Linked DNA regions of Homo sapiens: all the other regions are linked to region 3. The links are contacts of gene promoters, found by promoter capture Hi-C in human tissues and cell types (Jung and others, 2019). All regions are on one chromosome and are shown on one strand. The core of a region is centred on a gene start or on the middle of the fragment in contact, and the rest is flanking DNA. Distances in the headings are between cores, read along the strand shown. Region 1 has its middle 48 kb from the start of GZMB. Region 2 has its middle 16 kb from the start of DHRS4-AS1. Region 3 holds the start of NEDD8 (NEDD8 ubiquitin like modifier).

Evidence for each region. The method cuts DNA at HindIII sites, captures the fragments that hold promoters and counts their contacts. A contact is called where the count stands out against the background at its distance.
Region 1: a fragment that was not itself captured here is called in contact with the fragment with the promoter of NEDD8 in region 3 in 1 of the 25 tissues and cell types used here (spleen).
Region 2: a contact is called between a fragment that was not itself captured here and the fragment with the promoter of NEDD8 in region 3, in 1 of the 25 tissues and cell types used here (spleen).

Annotation. Positions count from the first base shown.
Region 1 is chr14:24,680,785-24,683,484 of GRCh38, reverse strand. No RefSeq gene overlaps it. Among named protein-coding and RNA genes, the nearest start is that of GZMB, 48 kb to the right of the region's middle. The HindIII fragment of the contact is 5,312 bases long and covers 1-2,700 here.
Region 2 is chr14:23,970,262-23,972,961 of GRCh38, reverse strand. It overlaps a transcript of DHRS4L2 not described here. Among named protein-coding and RNA genes, the nearest start is that of DHRS4-AS1, 16 kb to the right of the region's middle. The HindIII fragment of the contact is 4,031 bases long and covers 1-2,700 here.
Region 3 is chr14:24,230,917-24,233,616 of GRCh38, reverse strand. It overlaps NEDD8 (NEDD8 ubiquitin like modifier), which reads left to right and starts at 1,250. Exons shown (of 4, transcript NM_006156.3): 1 at 1,250-1,367. The coding sequence starts at 1,350. It overlaps NEDD8-MDP1 (NEDD8-MDP1 readthrough), which reads left to right and starts at 1,250. Exons shown (of 7, transcript NM_001199823.3): 1 at 1,250-1,367. The coding sequence starts at 1,350. It overlaps GMPR2 (guanosine monophosphate reductase 2), which reads right to left and starts at 688. Exons shown (of 10, transcript NM_001002002.3): 1 at 640-688; 2 at 277-398; 3 at 19-138. The coding sequence starts at 363. RefSeq lists enhancers at 1,060-1,354, 521-1,386. The HindIII fragment of the contact is 8,372 bases long and covers 1-1,707 here.

The sequences.
Region 1 (2,700 bases), core at 166-2,665, 450 kb before region 3:
GAGTTTAGCAAAGCTAAGCAGAGCCACAGCTGACCCACAGCCTTAGCGTAAATGGTCAAGAAATAAATCGTTTTTGTAAGGCAGTGAGATATTGGGGCTACCTGCTACTGTGACAGTAGTTAGTTAACACAGGAGTCATCTGTGTATGGGTAATGTATTTAAGGCCATAGAACTCAATGAGATTACATAGGGAATAAGCACAGATAAAGAGACAGACTGAGCCTGGGAAGAGGAGACTCCAGGAAAACAGACTGAGAAACCATGGACAAAGATGTTAGAAGGAAGCAGGAAAGAACCAGATGAGAGGCCAGTAAAAAAACAAACAAACAAACAAACGTGCTTTATGAAAGACAGCATAGTCCATAGTGTCAGACACTGCTGAGGAAAAGAAAAAGATACAGAAATGATACTAAATTTAGCAAGGAGGAGGATATTGATGACTTTAACAAAGATGATTTCCATTAATTGGTGGGAAACATAGATTGGCAAGAATTGGATAGAATATAAGTTGAAAAAATGAAGACAAAAATACACATTTTTTTTTATAAATTTTCATTAAAGGGAAGCAGAGACATGAAGAATTACCTGAAGGGAATGAAGAAGTTTACAGACTCCTGTCTCATTTTGTTTTCCAAATGAGAGATAGCACAGGATGTGTACATGTGGATGGGGAAATCCAGTAGAAAGCCATCATTTCAAGGTAAGAGGATGCACTAATTGATGCTCAGATGAGCAATGAATATACCATATTTAACATTAGAATTTTTATATTGATAGTGTTAGATCATATCATTGCCAAAAACACAAAGAAAGATATTAAAATACTGTCATGCCAGTTATTCTCTCCCCTTCAGTTCTCCGAGGACTGTGGGAGGGGCACCCACAAAGAATAAAACAAATAAGAATTAAAATATCCTGTACTGATGGTGTACAAGTGCCCCAAAACTCCAGGTCAAAGTCCTAATAATGGTTGACTAAGACCCTACAGCTCAACCTTCTTGTCCAAGTCCTGAATCCAATTAATGGGATTTTATCCTCTCTAGGTAACTGCAGAAAGGGCAACTGAAGAGAGTGATCAGTCCTGAATTCACTTTCATACCCCCATGGGATGAAAGAGAGAGCAAGGGAGCAGGGGCTGTGTTTGTGTTTCTTATGCCACAATAAGAAACTGCTCATATACTCAATGTCTTGAGCTCCAATAATTCACATGATTCTTCATCCCCGGCAGAGGTGTTGGCAAAAGCTAGCAAAGTGTGAGTAAAGTTGGTCATGCAGTGGCAAGTTCTCCTTACCCTATGTTGGGAGTTGGTAGGTGATTGTGCTATTCTCCATGGACAACTCATTCATATTTAACTGGGAACCTCTGAACAAAATATCCTAATCCAAAGGCATGGCCTTCTATAGTGTAAATTCTAGACATCAAGGCACAGTACTCCTAAGTCCTCTATTTCTCTAGCAGTAAAGCTGGTTCATGCAAAGCTCAGTCTCCCCTGGGGGCCCTTGCATGTCCATCATACACAGGTTATTTACTATAAAACCTCTAGAAAAATCCCTTATGAGGTCTGTTCCTTCCTTCCTAGGATATTCAAATGGACATTCTCTTTCCAAACAGCCCATAACTATCAAATCACTTGATTTTTAGTGCAAAGAAAGAACAATTGCACCAGAATCCGGTGACCATGCTTTTTGGGTAGCTCACAGAGAATTTCATAATTCAGAATTAATTAGGCAGTGAGCAAGAACAAGAGGCATATTTTGGTGTATTAATTCATGCCAAGTTCAAACTCATTCCATCTCTGTTGCCCGGTGTGAATAATTATGCCATTAATCCCAGGCAGGAGGAGAGCTATTGTGACTACAACACATTTCTAAAGCAAATAAAGAAAAATGTCACTTCTCCCTTTCAACTAATGCTCTGAATACAGCTACATAATAATAATAGTCATTTATTTATAGGGCATAAATTCCCTAGGGCTCAATAAGCCACAGGATAAGCAAAATGCCAGTTAAAGAGAAAAAAAACAGAACTTTTCCAGTTATTAATAATTCTGAAACAAAGCACTTGTTGGGGAGAATGACCAAGAGGAGAAACTGAAAATTTAAGGAGAGCTTGGAAAAGGGCTCAAAGAAAGAGACAGTTGTGTGGCTTTTTCATTTTCTTCTCCCCTCCTGTTACATACTGCTCCCACTGTGACTCAGAGGGCCAGCTGTCTGGGGAAGAAAAATTTGACACATTTTTTAGGTTGGTGCAAAAGTAATGGCAAAAACCACAATAACTTTTGCACCAACCTAATAATCAGCCCTGAATGTCACCCTGATGCTACACACCCTTTGCTGTGAAAGCAAAATAGGTCGACCTGCCCCCTTCCCCATTTCTGAATTCCTTTCCAACTCACAGATGGCTTATTGAGCATAGAAGTATTGGAGGATCAGTGTGGTTTCCCATCCAGCCTCTCTTATGAGGGTCAGAAATGCATGGGGAGTAGCAGTCAAGAGGGTGCCCTATGTGCGTCATTTCCAGCTTCACAATGTTGAAGAGGAGATTGGGGATAGACAGAGGAGTGGCACTATGCAGAAGCAGTTCTACATTTTTCTACATTTCCTCTGAGACAGAAGGAATAGGGTCGAGGCCCACCAGGCAGGAGCCCTGAGTGCCAGAGGTCACAGAAGCAGTGGGGATCAGTCCACACTGCCCTGACA
Region 2 (2,700 bases), core at 1-2,500, 260 kb after region 3:
ATGCTGCCTTGTTATTCTTTACTCCACCGACATGTTTGGGTGGAGAGAAACATAAATCTGGCTTACGTGCACGTCCAGTCATAGTACCTTCCCTTGAACTGAATTATGATGTAGATTCTATTGCTCACGTTTGTTGCTGACCTTCTCCTTATTATCACCCTGCCCTCCTACTACATTCCTTTTTACTGAAATAATGACGATAATAATCAATAAAAACTGAGGGAATTCAGAGACCGGTGCCGGTGCAGGTCCTTGGTATGCTGAGCGCCGGTCCCCTGGACTCACTGTTGTTTCTCTATACTTTGTCTCTGTGTCTTATTTCTCTTTCTCAGTCTCTTGTCCCACCTGACTAGAAATACCCACAGGTGTGGAGGGGCAAGCCACCCCTTCAAGCAGTAGCAACCCGCTTGGGTCCCCTTCCACACTGTGGAAGCTTTGTTCTTTCACTCTTTGCAATAAATCTTGCTGCTGCTCACTCTTTGGGTCCACACTGCCTTTATGAGCTGTAACACTCACCGTGAAGGTCTGCAGCTTCACTCCTGAGGCCAGTGAGGCCACGAACCCACCAGGAGGAATGAACAACTCCAGACAGGAGGAACGAACAACTCCAGACATGCTGCCTTAAGAGCTGTAACACTCACTGCGAAGGTCCGCAGCTTCACTCCTGAAGCCAGCAAGACCACGAACCCACCAGAAGGAAGAAACTCTGAACATGTCTGAACATCAGAAGGAACAAACTCCAGACACGCTGCCTTTAAGAACTGTAACACTCACCGCGAGGGTCCGCAGCTTCATTCTTGAAGTCAGTGAGACCAAGAACCCACCAATTCCAGACATACCTTCATTTTGGGCCTATGTGTGTCTTTGCATGTGAGATGGGTCTCCTGAATACAGCACACCATATGGGTCTTGATTCTTTATCCAATTTGCCAGTCTGTGTCTTTTAATTGGGGCATTTATCCCATTTACATTGAAGGTTAGTATTGTTATATGTGAATTTGATCCTGTCATGACGTTAGCTGGTTATTTTGCCCATTAATTGATGCAGTTTCTTCATAGCATCAATGGTCTTTACAATTTCGTATGTTTTTGCAGTGGCTGGTACCCGTTGTTCCTTTCCATGTTTAGTGCTTCCTTCAGGAGCTCTTATTGTAAGGCAGGCCTGGTGGTGACAAAATCTCTCAGCATCTCCTTGTCTGCAAAGGATTTTATTTCTCATTCACATACGAAGCTTAGTTTGGCTGGATATGAAATTCTAGTTTCAAAAATCTTTTCTTTCAGAATGTTGAATATTGGTCCCAACTCTTTTCTGGTTTGTATGGTTTCTGCTGAGAGATCTGCTGTTAGTCTGATGGGCTTCCCTTTGTTGGTCACCCAACCTTTCTCTCTGGCTGCCCTTAACCTTGCTGAGTCTGACAATTATGTGTCTTGGGGTTGCTCTTCTCAAGGAGTATCTTTGTGATGTTCTCTGTATTTCCTGAATTTGAATGTTTCTTTTTTATTTTTTTGTCTCTAATCTTGTCTTCTCACTTTATTTCATTAATTTTATCTTCAATCACTGATATCCTTTCTTCCACTTGATTGAATCAGCTATTGAAGCTTGTGTATCCTTCATGAAGTTCTTGTACTGTGGTTATCAGCTCCATCAGGTCATTTAAGCTCTTCTCTACATTCTTCATTCTAGTTAGCCATTCGTTTAACCTTTTTTTGAAGGTTTTTAGCTTCCTTGTAATGGGTTAGAACATGTTCCTTTAGCTGGGAGTAGTTTGTTATTACTGACCTTCTGAAGCTTAACTTCTGTCAAGTTATCAAACTTATTCTCCATCCAGTTTTGTTCCCTTGCTGGTGAGGACTTGTATTCCTTTGGAAGAGAAGAGACGTTCTGGTTTCTGGAAGTTTCAGCATTTCTGCTCTGGTTTCTCTCCATCTTTGTGGTTTTATCTACCTTTGGTCTTTGATGTTGGTGACCTATGGATGGGGTTTTAGTGTGGATGTCCTTTGCTATTCTGATGTTGATGCTGTCCTTTGCTGATGTTGATGCTATTCCTTTCTGTTTGTTAGTTTTCCTTCTAACAGGCCCCTCAGCTGCAGGTCTTTGGGGGTTTGCTGGAAGTCCATTCCAGACCTTATTTTCTTGGGTATCAGTAGAGGAGGCTGCAGAACAGCAAATATTGCTGCCTGATCCTTCTTCTGGAAGCTTTGTTCCACAGGGGCACCCACCTGTATGAGGTGTCTCTCCGCCCCTACTGGTCGGTGTTTTTCAGTCAAGCTACATGGGGGTCAGGGACCCACTCGGGGAGGCAGTCTGTCCGTTATCGGAGCACGAACTCCGTGCTGGGAGAACCACTGCTGTCTTTAGAGATGTCAGGCAAGGACACTGAAGTCTGCAGAAGCTGTCCGCTGCCTTTTGTTCAGATATGCCCTGGCCCCTGAGGTGGAATCTGGAGAGGCAGTAGGCCTTGCTGAGCTGCGGTGGGTTCCGCCCAGTTAGAGCTTCCCTGCAGCTTTGTTTACACTGTGATCATAGAACGCCTACTGAAGCCTTAGCAATGGAGGACTTCCCTCCCCCACGGCCCCGTTAACTGATGCAGTTTCGGCCCCCCGCCCCCCACCGCCCTCTCCACCCTACCTGTCAAGCTCCAGCTCCAGCGGAGGATGCTCCAGGGACAGCGATGTCAGGACTGAGATGCAGGGGCTGCC
Region 3 (2,700 bases), core at 1-2,500:
GCATGAGGAAAGCCCTACCTTACAGAGAACCTTGGCCATCTCAAAGGTGCCCACAGTATCCATATTGGCAGCAATGATGGGAACCCCAGAGTATGTCTGCTTTGAGTTCCGAAATGAAAAGGATCTTGTGAGATCCACCTGCAGATATGAACAGGAAATTGACCATTTCATTAATCCAAAAAACGTACCATATTAGGACAAGGACAGGCATCTTTCTTGGTTGTGGCCCACCGGGAGCGTGGGGTCAAGAAACAGCAAGTAGAGAAGCTTGCTCACCTCACTTCGAGACTTAAGGGTACTGCGTTTGGGCCTCAAAAGGACATCCTTGAAGTCCAGTTTCACATCGTTGTCAATATGAGGCATGGCGCTTAGCCTCGGGGTAGCGATGAATCTGAGGGCTGGAAGGCAGGAAGTCATAAGGACCAATCTTCCCCTGGGCTTTAACGCCCTGTTACGGCTGGTGGCCTCTCTTCGCTTAAGTTGTGGAAGGTCGGGCAAAGGCCGAAGTGTGGTCCCTGAAGCCTGTCACCTCGACCCATCCCGTGGCTGCGATTACCCTAGGGCTCCATCCCAGGTACTGTTTGTTGGGGAGGAGAGCTGGGAAAGGGTTGTGAGAGACCCTGACGGTGCATTCCTTACCCCGCTACACTTCCTTCTTCTACCCCTGCAAAGAGCAATGGGGCAAGAGGCTGATTTAGGGGAACGAAGGAATGTTGGCGACGGGGGGCGGGGAGGGTTCATAACTAGTTTCCGGAATAGAGGTACTCACTTCCTGTTGCCTTGGTCCAGGCGGCAGTTGACCAAAGACCACCTTGCTTAGCAACTAACCTCGTGCAATCCCGCTAAGCCTTCTGGGCCACGCCAACAGGTTCCTCTAGTTGCCGGCGAGAACTACTAGCCGACGAATTCCAGCTTCGGCGGCGGCAGGGCGAGGCCTTCTGGATAACAGAGTTCACGCACTGAGGTTGCTGTTGGATCCGAGGGGGTTAGACTACAACTCCCAGGGGGAAACGGGCGGGACCGCCTCCTGGCACGATGGGAGATGTAGTTCGTTCTGCCCCCACTTTTCGCTAGCCCGGGCTCGCCAGGGACTCTCAGAATCGCAGAGTCGTCATCTCTGCTGTTGCTAAACTGGATGCCTCATTCCAATTTACGACGTCACTGAACCGAAACGCGGGAGCAACCCTGAGCCTTTCCGGAACCCAGTGGGGGGGGGGGGGGGGGTGGAGCCAGACAGTGACCCGGAAGTAGAAGTGGCCCTTGCAGGCAAGAGTGCTGGAGGGCGGCAGCGGCGACCGGAGCGGTAGGAGCAGCAATTTATCCGTGTGCAGCCCCAAACTGGAAAGAAGATGCTAATTAAAGTGAAGGTGGGAGCACCTCCAGCCTTGCCAAGACGCAGTAGTACTGGGCTGGCAGCAGTGCCTTACGGGAGACGTGGGGAAGGAAAACCACGCCTTTCCCTAGCCTGGAGGACGCTGACTGCCTCAGGGCTCCGCGCGAGGGGTGGTGGGAAATAGGGGGACCCAGAAGGGCTTTGAGAGCGGGGCCCAGGTCCCACCTGACGACCCTGGGGTATTTTGCCATGCCTGCTTTTTTGCCAGGACTGTGCTATCACCCAGAATGGGGTCGCTTTTGTCGGGTCTCACTGTATTCGAACCCCCGCAGTCATAGAGAAGGCCTAGCAGCGGCTTGACTCCCCCGTCTCTCAGATTCTTGGAGTAAGCGCTGCTCTCCATTCTTCATTCCCAGGGTACCTGCTTCTCCCAGTCCCTAACGTAGGTCGCCTCCGAGCACAGCCCTAAAATCGGGGCCTCCCAAGGGCTAGACTATGAGCCTTTACTGGTGGTTGCCAAGGTGTGGTATCTCACCCGTCCTACAGGAACCAAAGCGGGGAGTGTGTTCAGTCAGTACCTGCCTTTCTGAGCCTGGCATCCTGGACCAGCCTCACTTCCTTGGCTGAGGCAGGTTAGTTACCGCTGCCCTAGTTCTTGCTACTAGCCATGGTTTCCTTCATCTGCATCTCTCAACTCCCGTGGTGGTTCTTCACCAATTTCCAGCCCTCGTTAGTCCTATCTGCTGTTTCCTCTTTTGTGCCTTCAGACAGACAGAGACCCCCCCCCCCACGCCCCCCTCAAAAAAACAAAACTGCTGACAAGTGAAGTCTAATGCTAGTTTGGCCTTTTTGTAGCTAAGTAAATCTATCGTTATTTCATCAGCTTCTTAGCATATTTACCGTACATAATAGTCATTCTTAACCTTCTCTTCCCCAGTCCTTCCAAACTACTTCTTAGCTAAGATTTGAGGTCTAGTATTAAAATAGTATGTTAAAGATGATTTTTTTTAACGTTGAGTAGCGGCCTATATAAGAGTCGTAACATCAATTTAATAGGTGAATGGGTCACTGGCGCCATTAAAAAGAGAAAATAGGCTGGGCGCGGTGGCTCACGCCTGTAATCCCAGCACTTTGGAAGGCCGAGGCAGGCCGATCGCTTGAGCCCAGGAGTTGGAGACCATCCTGGGCAACATGGCGAAACCCTGCCTGTACAATAAATTCAAAAAATTAGCCAAGGGTCTGGGCGCATGCCTGTAGGCCCAGCTATTCGGGAGGCCGAGATGGGAGGATTGATTGATCCTGGGATGTCGAAGCCGCGGTGAGCAGTGATGGCACCACTGCACTCCAGACCCTGCCTGAAAAAAAAG